2 separate regions of the Homo sapiens genome follow, and region 1 is linked to region 2. Evidence: promoter capture Hi-C in 16 types of primary human blood cells and fetal thymus (Javierre and others, 2016). All regions are on one chromosome and are shown on one strand. Each heading gives the region's core, a stretch centred on a gene start or on the middle of the fragment in contact. The rest is flanking DNA. Distances are from core to core; before and after follow the strand shown. Region 1 overlaps FBF1 (Fas binding factor 1). Region 2 holds the start of RNF157 (ring finger protein 157).

What was found. The method cuts DNA at HindIII sites, captures the fragments that hold promoters and counts their contacts. A CHiCAGO score of 5 or more calls a contact.
Region 1: a fragment that was not itself captured here is called in contact with the fragment with the promoter of RNF157 in region 2 in 1 of 17 cell types (endothelial precursors); the score reaches 5.0 in endothelial precursors.

The regions. Positions count from the first base shown.
Region 1 is chr17:75,927,796-75,930,525 of GRCh38, reverse strand. It overlaps FBF1 (Fas binding factor 1), which reads left to right. Exons shown (of 30, transcript NM_001319193.2): 7 at 479-529; 8 at 2,333-2,450. Among named protein-coding and RNA genes, the nearest start is that of FBF1, 12 kb to the left of the region's middle. The HindIII fragment of the contact is 1,427 bases long and covers 604-2,030 here.
Region 2 is chr17:76,238,929-76,241,742 of GRCh38, reverse strand. RNF157 (ring finger protein 157) reads left to right here and starts at 1,250. Exons shown (of 19, transcript NM_052916.3): 1 at 1,250-1,590. The coding sequence starts at 1,503. LOC105371896 (a long non-coding RNA gene) reads left to right here. Exons shown (of 6, transcript XR_007065913.1): 6 at 1-881. RefSeq lists silencers at 1,076-1,145, 1,166-1,305 and an enhancer at 1,610-2,282. The HindIII fragment of the contact is 1,725 bases long and covers 389-2,113 here.

The sequences.
Region 1 (2,730 bases), core at 68-2,567, 310 kb after region 2:
GGCCTCCCAAAGTGCTGGGATTACAGGCGTGAGCCACTGTAAATAATGCCCAAGGGCTGCCGAGTGGACCCAAAGCAGAATCCTCTTTCCTGTAGTAAGATGAGTGGAAAGGAGAGCTCCCTGAAACTGCTAGAGTCTTAGATGTTGCTCCTTTCCCCTTATAAACTCCATAGCTGTCCATTGGCATGGGTGGGAAGTAGCAGAATTTCAGTCCTGGATGGAAGAGTTCTCTATGGTTGGAAGGAGTAGGAATGGCAGTGCTCTCTGAGTCTCTAAAACCAGGCAGGTTTGGCTTCAAACAACTGCCAAGCCCAAGCAAGGGGAACAAAGCCACCCTCCTGTGTAAGCTCCATTGGCCAAGCTCTGCTCCTGCCGCGCCGTCTGCCCTAACAGAAGCAAGGGGCCAGGACCCTGAGTTTTATTGGGCCTTGACTAATGTGCCTCCTCATCTGTGTCCTCACCCTCATTGTGGACTTAGGTTTCAGGTATCTCAGAGGCAGACCCACAGGCTCTGCTCCAGGCCATGAAGGTAAGGAAACAGCTTGCACGATTCTTAGAACTGGGGGTGGGTGGGGTGGGGTCATGATATTTTGTACCAAAGCTTCATTCTCCTTCTAATTTCTCCCTTTACAACCTGTGTTTCTGAGCCCTTCCTCGTGCAAGCATGGAACTCGTCTGTGAGCCGTTGGCCTCCTTGCCTTTCTGAGTATCAACCAGTGTTCCTGGTATATAGAGAGTGGAGAGTGCCACAGGCCTCTGGGGAAACGGGGCCAGCTCTACTCGGAGGCCCACCTAGCTGGGTCCCCTCACCTCCACCTAGAAGACAGAGGGGGAGACTCTTTCCTCTAATGCTTGTTCTTAATCTTTCTCCATATTTCTCTCCACATCCCCTGCCAAGCCCCCTTCAATACTGCTGTCTTCTCATCAGATCAAGCCCAGCGCCAATCTTTGCAATGGATTTTTAAGGCACAGATTCTGAATAATTTGTAAGGACATAATCTCTAGCTTGGCCTAAGACACCTTGTTCTCCCTCTCCTTCCAGCCAGCAGCACCTTCCTGTCTGACCCTTGGGGTTTTGTGTCCCTTTTAGTTAACCCATTTTGCCACAGTCCCTAGGACAAAGCCGCGTTTTTGGTTACAGCCCTGTGGGGCTCTTGTTTTTGTTGTGTATTTTTGTTTTTTGGGTTTTTTTTTAGAGACACCATCGCATTCTATCACCCAGGCTGGAGTGCAGTGGTGTGATCTCATTGCAACCTTAAACTCCTGGCCTTAAGCGATTCTCTTACCTTGGCCTCCCAAAATACTGTAATTACAGGCATGAGGCACCACACCCGGTCCAGATTCAGCTTCTTTAATCTCATCTTGAAATCTTTCTCCTCAAAGGCCAGGCACCTGTAATCCCAGAACTTTGGGAGGCCGAGGCAGTAGGCTCGCTTGAGCCTAGGAGTTGGAGGCTGCAATGAGCTATGATCACACCACTGCACTACAGCCTGGGTGGTGACAGAGTGAGACTCTGTCTTCAAAAAAAAAAAAAAAGTCTGGCATGGTGGCTTACTCCTGTAATGCCAGCACTTTGGGAGGCCATGGCAGGTGGATCACTTGAGCTCAGAAGTTGGAGGCTGCAATGAGCTATGATCGCACCACTTCACTCCAGCCTGGGTGACAGAGTGAGACTCTGTCTTTATTTTATTTTATTTTTAATTTATTTTTATTTTTTTGAGACGGAGTCTTGCTCTGTTGCCTAGGCTGGAGTGCAGTGGCATGATCTCGGCTCACTGCAACCTCCACCTCCCAGGTTCAAGCGATTCTCCTACCTCAGCCTCCCAAGTAGCTGGGATTACAGGCGTGCACCACCACACCCAACTAATTTTTGTATTTTTTGTAGAGACAGGGTTTCATCATGTTGGCCAGGATGGTCTCGATTTCTTGACCTGGTGATCCACCTGCCTCGGCCCAAAGTGCTGGGATTCTAGGCATGAGCCACCGCGCCCGGCCAATATCCTGTCTAAAAAAAGAAAAAAAAGAAAGCTTTTTTCCCGAGACCAGCCACCTAGGATCCCTGGGCATAACCCACAAGTCCTCTGACTCAATTTTTGGTGCTGACTTTGAGTCTCTCATCCCAGAACCATGAGCTGGACTCCATTCCACCTCCCCCTGCTTACCTTTAGTTCCATTTTCTTTCTTCACTCACTGTTTTTCTCAACAGTTTTCTCATTTTCCTTTGTTTTCTCACAATTCTACACCTGGGGTGCCAACAGCCCATCTCTCTCAGGTGGAAGTCCTCAGCCCCTTATCAGACATAGTCCTCTGCCCTCCCTCCCTGGTTTTCTAGGACCTGGACGGCATGGATGCTGATATCTTAGGTCTGAAGAAATCTAATTCAGCCCCTAGCAAAAAAGCTGCAAAGGACCCTGGGAAAGGAGAGCTGCCCAACCACCCCAAGCCTGCAGGTGGGTCAGTAGCCAGTGAGAAAGGTGCATGGGAGACGGCTCCTCGCATCTGCTAGGGAGACTTTGAGGACGTGGAAGATGCTAGTAGGAAGCGTTCATGTCCTTGGGTTTTCTCTGCACAGGATGGAGAGGCCAAGGAGCATTTGTGCGTGTGTGTGTTTGAGTGTGTGTGGTGGGGTAAGGGGACAGCTTGAGTTTCCTCCCTTCCTCGAGCTGTTCCAGGCCCTCTGGGTCCAACATGGGCAGCTCCTGGAGAAGCTGTGTGAGTTAAAATGGAGAA
Region 2 (2,814 bases), core at 1-2,500:
CAGCTACTCGGGAGGCTGAGGCAGGAGAATCCCTTGAACCCAGGAGGCGGAGGTTGCAGTGAGCTGAGATCACGCCACTGCACTCCAGCCTGGGCGACAGAGGGAGACTCCGTCTCAAAACACAGAAAAACAAAAACAAAATATAACCAGGAAAGACCTAGACTCCGTAAAATAGCTTTACAAACCTAATCAAGGGAACCAGACACCCCAAACTGTACTTCGAACACTGTTGAAAAGTTGTGAAAGTCATGTTCTAGCAGTTGAAATGTTTGCTGATCAGTCCACTCTCTCAGGAAAAAAAACACCAGACCCACAAAGAAAATAGAAGGTTTAAAACACAAATGTCTGTAATTAAGCAATGGAATGACGTCTTCCGCCGGCCCAAGCTTCCCACTGTTGTGTGTGTTTTTATCAACAGGAGCTCCCGGTTCTGCCTGGCCCGGTTCGCTTTCGCCTGCGTTGACTCTCTTGGCACTCAGGCCTTTCCAAAGTTTCCGGGGTCCCGTTTCCACGATACAGACAGAGGCTGGATGTCTTGATCTTATCCTCAGTCGATGTTCTCCTAACTTTAGGGCTACAAGGAGCCTTAAACAGCATGTATAGAGTTGGGAGCGCTTTGAATAGACGCACGTGAGAGGGAGGCGGCATCTTCCTAGCCGGTCACCAGCATTAACACGGGGCAGGAGACATGCGAATGCACCGTGGGACCCCTCTCCCTACCCCCCTGCATGAGATTTCCGAAGACCTCCGCCGGCCGACGCTGAGGGGCGGGGTTGGGAAGGCTTCCTCCAGGCGCGGGAGCAGCGGAGCGGGGACCGCCCGCTTTGGGACGCCCAGGACAATGGCGAGCGAGCTCCCGGCCAGTCCTCGCGGACCGCGGGAGGGGGCGGCTCCCTGCGCGGTAATCCGAGCCGGGATAAACAGGCGCGGAGGGGCGACGCGTCCCGGCCGGGTGCAGCGCTCGTCTCCTGGGGTCCCAGCTCCGGCCGGTCCCGCCCCGCCCCGCCGCGGGCACCCGGCCGCGCCCCCGTCCCCGTCGCGAGTCCCCGCCCACGCCCACGCCCCCGCCGCGAGGCCCTGGGCCGCGTCCACGCGCGCCGAGTCCAGCCGCGGCTCCCCGCGCGAGGCACGCGCCGCCGGCTCCTGCTGCAGTCCCGCGCTCATTGGCTGCTCCGGCGCGGGCGCTCCCGCCCCGCCTCGCCATTGGCTGGGGCCGCCGCGGTCCCCGCGCGGAGCGGCCGCTGACATCACGCGGCCTGAGGCGGCGGCGGCGCCCCCGGCCCAGACCCGCAGCCCCCTTGGCAGAGGCGCCGCCGCGGTGCCCGGCGGAGGATGGTGCGCGGCGCGCCGGGGGCTCCCCGCCGCCAGAGCCGCAGCGCCGCAGCGGAGCCGGCCGCGGCGGGCAGTCGGCCCCCGCACCGGGCGCGGGGCGGGCGGCCGCGGTGAAGCGCGGAGGGCGGCGCGGGCACCGGGGCCGGGCCGGGGCTGCAGCCGCAGCGGCCATGGGGGCCCTGACGAGCCGGCAGCACGCGGGCGTGGAGGAGGTGGACATCCCGTCTAATTCCGTGTACCGCTACCCGCCCAAGTCCGGTGAGGGCGGGCGGGCGCCGCAGCCGCGAGGAGGGAGAGGGGCAGGGGCAGGGGTCTGGGTCGGGACGGCCTGAGGGGGCCCCGCGGGTCTTCGGGGACTCAGTGGTTGCGGACGCTCCGAAACGGTCTTCGAGCGCGGGAGGTCTTCGAGAAGGCCGAGGTCTCCCCCGCCCCGGGCGAATTAGCCCAAGGGGCGTCCTGCCGGGTCTAGCAGGGTCACCGAGGGCACCGAGCCCCTCCACGGGAGGACGGGAGCGGCCTCCATTGTAATCGGCCCCGTGACGGGGACGCGTGCCCGCAGGGACCGAGGCTCCTGGGGAGCGGGGCTGCGGCGTCGTAGGCGAGGTCGGCGCCCCGCACGGACCCGGCCGGCCCGGCCCAAAGCCTACCTGCCTCGCGGGGTCCGAGGGCCGCGAGGGAGGCGACCTCGGCATCCAAACAGGCACTTGCGCCAGGTGCTATCCCTGCGCTGCCGTCTCCTGGCCTCTGGAAAGGTTAGAATTAGGTTTCTCCTGGAAAAGCTTCCATTGCCTGCTGAAGGATGGAAGCCAAACAGGCATTTGCAGTGCTGGTGCTTTTGCAGAGGCTGTCAGAAGCCGGGGGGTGGGGGGGGTGGTGGTGGTGGAAAGTAACAGAAATGTTTGGGAATCTGAGTATCAGAGTTACTCGGATTGCCCCTTTGCTAGCGTAGTGGCAAGCCTGGGTTTTGGAGTGGGACCAGCTCTGGGACAGGGCAGAGGTATTGGAAACGTATAGAAGTATGTTTGTTATTAGAATCATCCCTTCACTTAAATGTCTCTAGCCTCTGGATTGTGGTATCAGCATTGGAGGTGGAGGAGGATTTTGACAGCAAAGCAGAGAATCACAAGGTAGTTCAGTTATGTGAGCACCGGCCAGTATGAATTGCATGACCTAGCCGGTGTTTACTTTTAATTGCAAGTAGTTTTATTTTAATTAATTACTTTTAATTTTATTCTCAAGACTTCTGAGGATGAATGGCTGCGACATTCTGTCTGCTTAGGACCCGATGGAGATTTTGGTGATTTCGGAATGAGGTGTCAGAATTGGAGCAGAGCCTCGTCTCTTTTTGGTAGAATAGAGACATACTGAGATGAGCTGGTTTCTCAGCAGTGTGTCCAGTGTCTGCCAGGTGAAAGCAGGGGCCAGACGATGAACCTGCCCGCATCCCTGCAGAGTGTCTGCCAGAGCTGTGTTTCTCACTGC